Linked DNA regions of Homo sapiens: region 1 is linked to region 2. Evidence: promoter capture Hi-C in human tissues and cell types (Jung and others, 2019). All regions are on one chromosome and are shown on one strand. Each heading gives the region's core, a stretch centred on a gene start or on the middle of the fragment in contact. The rest is flanking DNA. Distances are from core to core; before and after follow the strand shown.

Region 1 (4,888 bases), core at 216-2,715, 1.2 Mb after region 2:
AACCCTATGGATTATCAATATTATAATCTTTATGTAGAGAGAACAGAATATGAAAACAGATTCCAATTATCCAACCTGGGACTAAGATGGGAAAACCAAGGTGTCTTATCTTTACGCCAGCAATAAGATATTTTGGGAAAAGCATAGAATTTGGTGGTTAATAAACCTGGCCTCTAGCCTTCAGTTTGTCTTCACTACTTGAATAGCCTAGGCAAGTGAATTCATCTTTTAGATTTCGTTTCTTAGTGTATAGACAAAGAAATGAGACATCCTGTGAAAATCTCTGGCACAGTGCCTAGCATATAGCAGACACACATGAAGTAGAATCATGGGTTCTGAATCTTTTTTAGTGTCTTCATCCATGACACGAGAAGTTTTAATTGATAGCACAAGCATTTTCAATTTTGAAAAAAGCAGTAGAGCCCTGTGAACAACAACAGCAACAAATTTTTCATGGAATCCTAATAAATGAACCAGATAAAAGCTAAGTGGTCCTGACTAAAGTGAAAGTAGAAAGCCCAGAGCTACATCCACTGGTCATTTATGGCATGAAGCCAAAAATATGGTGTTAATTCAGGCCTCCAGTTAGTGCATCACACTAACACACGTGTCACAAATGTTTTCATCACCTTTAAATTATTCACTATTTCTTGGGCCAATACATATTTCTTGTGGGCTACACATGACAAGGTCTCTATTGTTCCACCTCCCATTTCCTCAAGGTAATTCCTCTGAAAATTCATAATTAAAAGGGGGGTAATATTGATGTGGTGAACTTTAACGATCCTTTGAAATTGTGTTGGAGAACATACTTTTGTAATTGGAGGGTGGCACATGCAATTGCAAACCAGCCTGATTCAGGCAGAATGTTAAAATGGTTGCCATCTATCTGTTCTGCTGACTGCATGTACCCGACTGTTCACTGGAATGATCACTTGTGGCCCACCCAGTTCAGCTATCTGTATTTAACAATATATGAAGAGTTTCTTTTAACTCAAGACTATATAAAGACAAAAGAACCATTTGGTTTAGAATAAATCAGAGCATTGTAATAATTGTGTATATTTTACTAAACATATAACTTACTTTTACAATAACTACACTTAGCACCATGCCATAATTGGGAGAGACTGCAGAGTCAGGTTAAACTAATTTTAAACCCCAGTTCTTCTACTTACTAGCTTTGTAATCTTGGGCCATTATTTTATCCTTGTTAAACCACCATTTTCTCATTAGTGAAATGGGAATGAGAATTCATTTTTCATTTGAGTTGCTGTGAGATTTAAAAGAAAAAAACAGACCCTGGAACCTGGTATCAGACCCAGCAAAAAGTGTATGCTCAATAACTATTCATTCATTTTGCTTAAAGTATTGTGTGGTTTTGATGTTTACTTATAGTCCTAACTTGACAAAAAAATTGGTGAAACTGAGTTAACTTTGGCTAAGGAACTGTACCAGTATAGCCTGTTTCCTTATCTTAGTTACCTTTTATTTTTCTACCTCTGCAGGTATTTTTACCTCTGCAGTGATCATTTACTGATCATCTCCAGAGCCTTGAGCTGACTTGGATTTTATCCTAATTTAGAATCTCAGATTCTCTGTTTTCAGTCATTGTATGTTTACACACAATAAAGAAGTAAATGCCCATCAACTGTATGCCTAAAACTATCAGCTACTAATGGCTACTGCATAGATGTATGCAAAGTTAGAACAAGAGGAATTCAACTCTTTTTCAAAATGTGCTCTGCTAACTGCCTAGTATTGTCATAAGTTAACCTAGGAATGTGCATTCTCTCCCCGCTCTCCTGACCCATCAGCTATCCCATTAGATATTTTAGGGTAGTAAATGACTCTAATTTACCATATGAAAATATTTGCTTTTCTTGCAGATAACGTTAACTGTAGAATGAAATTCTCATAAATTGAATATACAAGAAAAACACCTAGGGATCCTTCTTGTTAAAATGTGGATTTGAATTCACTAGGTCTCAGGAGAGGCCTGAAACTCTACATTTCTAACAAGCTCCCTGGTGACACCCATGCTACTGGTCTGCAGATCACAGCTTGGGTAGCAAGGTTCCAAGGTACATCCTGGGTCACCTTATAAATCATCCGTTACTGCGCTTCCACCATCTCTTTTGCCCATCAATTTAGAATAAGCAGATTCTTTTTGTTTATTTGTTTATTTATGTATTTCATGCTAGCCATGTTTGAAATACAAACAGACCCAAGGAAACCTCATTGCTGACTTGGACATTTTTAGCTGTTTATCTCTGAGAAAAGTTATCTTCTAAAAGAAAAACAGCAAATAAAAACAAACTCACAGCTCTGTGTCAATTTTTAAATGACTTAACTTTACATGATGTCTTTCTTTGGTAAATTTTAATCTTTTTGACCATCCAGTGGGTTGGTTTTCTGACCACAAAGAAAGTAAAATTCCCTATGGAACAGCAACAACAACAAAACACCGATGCTACTTTGAAAATTATTAAAATAACATTGGCATGTGACTGAGGCCAGCACCCCAGAAGCTGAGCATTTATAATAATAAATGCTTTGACTTCCATTCAACAGTGATCTGCGAGCCTTATCCAATCAATGAGGATGATGAAGATGTGAACTGTGATCGCCACAAATTTGTTAATTTGTCAGTCACATTAAAGACATGGCAGGTCACTCGTTGGGCTCCCCTTGACCTTTAGTCTTAAGATTACAAGATATTCAGAAATTTTGTCCTAAACTCCATTATTTTAGGAGCTGTTTCTTAAGAAAACTCTGAGCCAAGCATTCCAGAATATATTATCGCTTTAAACACAGATTTTCATTGACAACATTTTGTGGGCACCCATTTAATATTAATATTAAGCCAAGGAAATAATGGTCCTTGTTTCTTTCCTTTAAAATGACAGGAATAGTGGGTACTTGTTCCTTATGAAAAACAGGAAATATCTAAGCCAGCAGTATTCACACTAGTGTCATTCCTGCATTACTTCAGTTATTGATTGAACCTTGCCAAATTCTCCATAATGCATCTGCCTACCAGCGAGGGAGAGGCTTATGTGGGAGACTGACTTGTAAAGGTTATCTCAGGAACAAATGATGTGCAGCTCTCCACCTTTTAAAAAGTCTTGAAATGCTGTGAAATTGGATAGCCACTGAGGTACAGAAAATGGAGCATCTGCTTATAATTTTCTGAAATTAGTAAGGTAATGTTTTAATATAATTGGTACAGAATTTGGATTTAATTCTTTAGAAGGGATGTCCAAACCAAATAAGCACTTATTAGTACTGTTCTCTGTCACCTTAAAACAATGTAAGTCTAAGTATTTTCAAGGGTTAGAGCTCAGGAGTCTCTAGGAGTTTCCCAGAATCCTTGCGATTCTTGTCCACCAGGTACAAGGTGGGAGAGGGTGGGGTAGGGGCATAGCAGCCAGGAGCAGAGGTCTTAGATGAGTTTATCTTCAAGTCTCAAGGAGACTCCTTGTTGGTACTTTTGCCAACATTTGAGAGTGTTATATTTTGTTTTGTCTCTTCTGTTGAATCTAAACCGATAATACCCCCCAAATTTTGCCCTAGGGTCTGCACATTTATAAACACAAGAAATGCAATTGCTGAGGCCTCAATTTGTTCTATTGATTTGGAGAGTGCTGCAGGGAGTCCCAAGATCAATAAAGCACTGGCTTCCTACCTTTCACTTCTTCCTTGTCAGTTTCCATTGCCCCCAATTTGCCTGTTTTCTTGTCTTGCTCTTGGGAATCATTGCCATATGTGTCTGTTCTCTCTCTCTCTCTCTCTCATCTCTCCTGGGGGAAGAAAATAATTCTGAATGCTGAATGATAGTTTTTTAGAATTCTAACAACAATACATTTCAAGGTGGATGAAAGAAGTCCTCAAACTCATATGAATACCTCTAGATCTACCTATTCTTGTATCTACCTTTATATGCAACATGGTGTAAAAGTGCAGGGCTTCAGACTTCACTTGGACAAGCTTGCCAATGATTTTTCTGGTCCTGGCAGAGGGCCATCGTCTATGTTAGTCCATGAGGCCATGTGCATACCTAACGTACTTTTTTTCTGTGTTCCTGTTCCTTCTCTGTTTGCATGTGTATCCAAGTGAGTGTGCACATATATGTAAGCAAAAATGCACACACTGTGGGCAACATCTGCATGAAGAAAGTATTTTTTTAAAGGGTCAAAGTAGGGGATGGTTAAATTCAAGTGAGGATAAAAATAGAAGCCCAGCCTTGGGACAGCACTGTGACTAGTTGATAATTACGTTCTACCCAAGATCCTTGTCTTGTTCTTTGGAAAATCACCTCACTCTGAGCAAGTCTTCCTTTAGATCAACAGCTAGAAAATGAGTAGGTGGCTGAGATCCTCTCTGAACAAAGGACATATTCTGAGGAAACTACCTTTTGTCTCCTTAAGTCTTGGGATGAGTTTGTTTTATTCATTCATTCTGCTTCAAGAAGAAGACCTAGGAGTAAGAATGAAGTTTCTCAGATGAGGTTCTATATGCTCACTTAAGAAGATGTCCTTAGCTTTCCCTGAATTTTCTCTTTCCTTATCCCCAGAATTAATACAGAAAAGTAAGAAAGTGAAAAATATATGGCCAAAATAAAAGAAAACATGGAATAAAGACCCCTTCTGAGGTAAAGAAAATTTTAAAAGCTTATTTCCATCACTACGAACTACTCTTTCCCCTCAAGAATAAGTTAGCACTGTTGGAGTCAGTTACAGTTTTCAGAATTCTCTCTGGGAACTGTTGTGATAACCTCCAAGGGGCCCCTGTCCTCTGCAACTCTGTGCCTCCTTTCTAGACTCCGCTGTCTTGTCAGGGGGGTGGCTATGTCCCTTCTACCTGGAGAGAAATGCAGTCAGTCTTG
Region 2 (4,696 bases), core at 164-2,663:
ATTCTTAATTACCCAGCTGAGAGTCTGAACGTCTTGAGGAATTACTTTGAAGTTTCTCGTTAATATTACCATCATATCATGTAAGTCTATATCGCGAGTTTGTAGATGTATGGAGTTCCTAGTGGGTGCCCGGCACATAATAATTGCTTAATAAATTGCGATTATGAAACGTTACTCTAATGAACTATTAGTGTTTTTTTTTAAGAAATACTTTTTTTTTTTTTTGAGACATTGTCTCGCTCTGTCGCCCAGGCTGGAGTGCAGTGGCACCATCACGACTCACTGCAACCTCCGCCTCCTGGGTTCAAGCGATTCTCCTGCCTCAGCTGGGACTACAGGCACGTGCCACCGCACCCGGGTACTTTTTGTATTTTAAGTAGAGACGGGGTTTCACCATGTTAGCCAGCTGGTCTCCAACTCCTGACCTCAGGTGATCTACCCGCCTCCGTCTCCCAAAGTGTTGGGATTACAGGCGTGAGCCACCACGTCCGGCCTAAGGTATACATTTTAATACTTTAAAATGCCTAACTTTTTTTGGGACACACTGGAGTTGTTTCATAACACACAAAATAGGCTTTTTGAGGGCACTGACATAAATTCTCATTGATCGTCACCCCCACGCGGTGAAAACCACACGTTACCTGGCATGTTTTCCGGTAGTTATTTTTAGAATAATAAAGATCGTCTTCACCTACCCCAGCAAATTTAATGTGCTGAACACAACAGAAACAACTTTTCTGTGGTTTAGCCAGCCCTCTCTCTTCAACTAAGTTATTTAGTGCGGATACGCAGAGAAGTGTAATAGGAGCTGCTGGGCCACCAAGAAAACGCTCTTGCCATTGTAAGGCTTCGATCTCAAGCGGAGATTTACCACGCATCTCACTTTAAACTGGGAAAGGAACCGGGATAAGGAAAAGAGCCCCCTGTGCGAGTTCGTTCCCAGCTCGGGGTTGGGGGCGTCCCAGGATAAATGAGATAAATGAGTTAATCATCTCCTGCAAGGCAGCCACTTCAGAGTTATGTCGCCCGCCTGCGGGGACTAACGACTGCAATTAAGACGCTCCTTCTCGGTCCCGGTCGGGTTCCGTGCAGCGGGGAGCCGACTGTGAGTCACCCCGGCCCCGGGAGCCCAAGCAAAGGGGAGGGGAGAGCGCCCAGGGTGGAGGGGAGCCGCGGGGCGAAATTCTAGCCCCAGGACGCCTCGGAAGGAAGAGGAGGGGCAGCTGCGCGTGGGGAAGAGAAGGAAGAGGCGTCCAGGGAAGGGAAGGGAGGAAGAAGGAAGGCGGAGGAAAGAGAAGGGGACGAGCGGGAGCGCGGGCCCGGCCGGGTGGCGCCTCGGGGAGTGTCTGCCGCGCGGGGGCCGGGCGGGGCGGGGCCGCGGGCGCTCAGAGCTCGGCGGGGGCTGCCGGGATTGGGGCGCCGCAGCTAGCGCTGGTCTCGGTGGCAGCTCCTCCGCGCCGCAGGACTCGGCTCTACGGGACATGTCCGTGCCGCGCTCGCCGCGCGCCCGGGCCTGCTAGCTCCTCTGTGCTCCCTGAACGCGCGGCGCCGCACCTGGCAGCGGCCTCGGAGCTCGGCTCGGGCAGGAGCGCGCGGCCGTGCGCACCGCGCAGCGACCGCTGCCGTCATGGGGCTGCAGCCCCTGGAGTTCAGCGACTGCTACCTCGACAGCCCGTGGTTCCGGGAGAGGATCCGCGCTCACGAAGCGGAACTCGAGAGGACCAACAAGTTCATCAAAGAGCTCATTAAGGACGGGAAGAACCTCATCGCTGCGACGAAAAGTAAGCGGGGACGCGGGCGCGGACGGGCTGCGGCGTGGCGAGGCGGCTGGGGGAGCCTCTCTCGGCAGGAGACGGAGGGTCTTGTGTCCGGGGCCAGCAGCCAGAGGAACGGGGAATTCATTCCGGACCAGCCCAGCTCTCTCGGAACCCCGGGGGGTCCCTGGAATCATTCCTCCTCGAGGCAGCGCGGCGAGTCCCCATTCCCGCCCCTGCGGCTCTGCGGCGGCGGGAACCAGCTGCCAGCGGGCCCCGCCTGGGCCCCGCCTGGCCCCGGCCGAACACCCCTCGCTGAATGCGCGCTCCGCTGGACCGACCCTAGGCACTCCTGGCCCGGAGTCAGGTTTCATTGCTGCCTAAAGCTACTCACAATCTCTTACAAAACCGAGGCATCTGTTTGCCTAGTTTTGTTTTGTGACTTCTCAAAAGAAATTTCTTGGGGATTCTTTGAAACCCTGCGGGAGTGTTGAGTTTTCCAGAGTCCCCTTAAGCTTCACCTTTTCCCTCTCATTGTCTGATCTTCCCCGACAGTCCTGTTCCAGGTCCTTCACGTGCCAAACCAGAAAGTCCACCTGGCTTTATGCTGCTTCCGCACATTCCTCCCCTGCCGTGCTGAGGAGGGTTCAAAGATTGGGGTTTGGAAGGGTGAGCGGACAGCCTGCCCTCTAGCCTAGGCGGGCACTGCTTGCAAATAGGGAATTCCACCCCGGTTAGGCTTGGTGCCTTCCTCCCCTGAACTTCTGTCTCTTAAACTCGGAAGAAGACACGAGATACAGGAGAGATAACTGTATTTTAGTGTAGTTGAGGAGAGTCTTTCTAGGAGAGAAGGGGCCAAAATTCATGCAGAAATACTGAGTTAGTGATGCTACTGGAAAATGGGGCGGAATTAGCCCCAGTGAGGAGCTGGGCAGCCTGACCATCCCTTGGATCCATAACCCCTTCGGAGGATGGCGGTGAATGTCCCCTTTCCCCCTTTAAAAGACCTGTCCATACAGCAGACAGGGACTTGGGCAGTATCCAGCCTTGAGGGGCTGGGTTCTTAGGGCCTTCATCACTCACCTAGATTCTCAGTTCAGTAATTCTCAGCCTTAGGTATTCGTCCCTTGTACATTTGTTTGTAGATACCACCTCTGGGGAAAATCCCCCATCTCACTGTTCTCCCGACCGCGCCCCGCCCCATTTTTCAGTAAGGGCGATTAAAACATATTGATTATACTGTCTCGGGCACCCAGCATGGTGCCTGGTACAGTAAATATGCATTTAATGAATAAGTTGAAGTACATTTCTGTGGGAAGAATTTAGTGAGCCATCCCTGTAATTTTGGAGGCAAGTCACTCAACTTCTCTGGATGATCTCCAAGGTTCCTTTTGGTTCTCTGACCTCTTTGGTGTTGCAAAATCAGGACTGGGACTCACTTAGGGTTTTTTTGTTTTGTTTTTAAGTCTCTGCTGCTTGAATCAGAAATGGGACTCTGGGACATGTGACAAGTGGGCTTATTTGGTTGAGGGCTCTCCAGGCCCTTGGCATCTGGTATGTGTGTTGGGTGGGAAGTAGGGGGGCGCCTATACATATGGAGGAGTGAGCATAGAAAGGAGGAGTTGGGAGCGGGGGTGCAGAGTGAACACGAGAGAATGAGGACTGAGGACTCTTTCTGTAACTTGATGTTAACCAGAGTCAGTGGCCGGGAGAATGTACCTTCTCTCTCATTGGTTGTAGTAGTTCCCTCTGGAGCTAGAGAGGTGTGGAGAGAGGCAGAGGGCAAAGCCAGTTTGGCCACTGGTAGAAAGCTATTTCTGTGACAGCATATTAGCTTTCCTGCCATCAGGACACATGCGTTAGGTTCCAGCAGCAGCCAGTGCATCTGGGGGGCCAGATGTCAGCTTTCCTCCAGACTGTAGACTTTCTTGAATTTGTGAATTAGTATCTTACTCATTTTGATTCTCGTCCTTTAGCATAAGAAACATAACTTGTAATCATGCTTTGAGAGTAATTGGGAAGTGTCTTTTTTTCTCGTTATGTTCATTAAGAATTTATGTTTAAATTCTTTCCCAGAAGGTGACAGGAACACAGCTGTAGCTCACATGCCTTTTCCCGCTTGCTCCATAAAGTTTACTTCTAGTTCCTATCAAAGACTAAGAGCCTTGGACTAAAGTCAGGGGACCTGAATTTAATTCTTCTTCACTGGTTAGGGCGTGGCTATAGGAAAATTGAGCAGGTCTTATTCTTTTGCGTCCAACTTCCCCTGTCTACCTCTTAGGGGAACTAATAAGGTTCTGCAGCATTTGAAAATGGCTTGATGAGGTTATTTGAAACTGCAGTCTAGGTAAATGGTTCATCTAACCAGTTGAGCTTTTGTATAACATCAGAGAGTCAAGGGATGACATTGGGTGGAGGATCTACAGAAAGAATAAAACCCACTAGGTCAGATTATTTATATTTCCAGATATTTTATATTTTATTTTACAAAAATGACCTTTTGAGCATTTCGAGAAGTGTGTATTTAAGTGATTTCTATTTTTAATTGCCCTGCACGGTGTCTCCTGTTTGCATTACATTCTTGGAAGATTTCAATATGTAATTTTGATGGCTTGATGCTTTGAAGTCTTCCATAAATATTTAGAGTTTTGAGGCCTATGCGACCTGAAGGCTTACTGCTGAATTCAATTAGGTAGCAATCTGCAAATATTTAGCACCTATAATTTGCTAAATACTGGAATTAGATACGGATTTATAATGGGGTAGAGGCCCTTGCCCTTGAGTTTACTGTCCTGTAGTTGAAATTACTTCAATCTAAGGAACATTTTTGAACTCCTTCCTGCACTGTGCTAAATTCTTGAAGAAACAAAGGATATAGACACATACCTGTGACAAGGTTAAACATTTAGTGACAAGTATTCTAACTTTTCCAGGGACAAGGG

Evidence for each region. Contacts are between HindIII fragments. The study calls those that stand out against the background at their distance.
Region 1: a fragment that was not itself captured here is called in contact with the fragment with the promoter of ARHGAP10 in region 2 in 1 of the 25 tissues and cell types used here (hippocampus).

What each region holds. Positions count from the first base shown.
Region 1 is chr4:148,909,246-148,914,133 of GRCh38, forward strand. All of the region lies in intron 3 of LOC107986195 (a long non-coding RNA gene), which reads left to right. Among named protein-coding and RNA genes, the nearest start is that of LINC02430, 240 kb to the right of the region's middle. The HindIII fragment of the contact is 5,731 bases long and covers 1-4,331 here.
Region 2 is chr4:147,730,675-147,735,370 of GRCh38, forward strand. It overlaps ARHGAP10 (Rho GTPase activating protein 10), which reads left to right and starts at 1,414. Exons shown (of 23, transcript NM_024605.4): 1 at 1,414-1,781. The coding sequence starts at 1,628. RefSeq lists enhancers at 1,025-1,917, 1,918-2,810, 2,131-2,200, 3,329-3,458 and silencers at 1,111-1,630, 1,941-2,020. The HindIII fragment of the contact is 6,670 bases long and covers 1-4,694 here.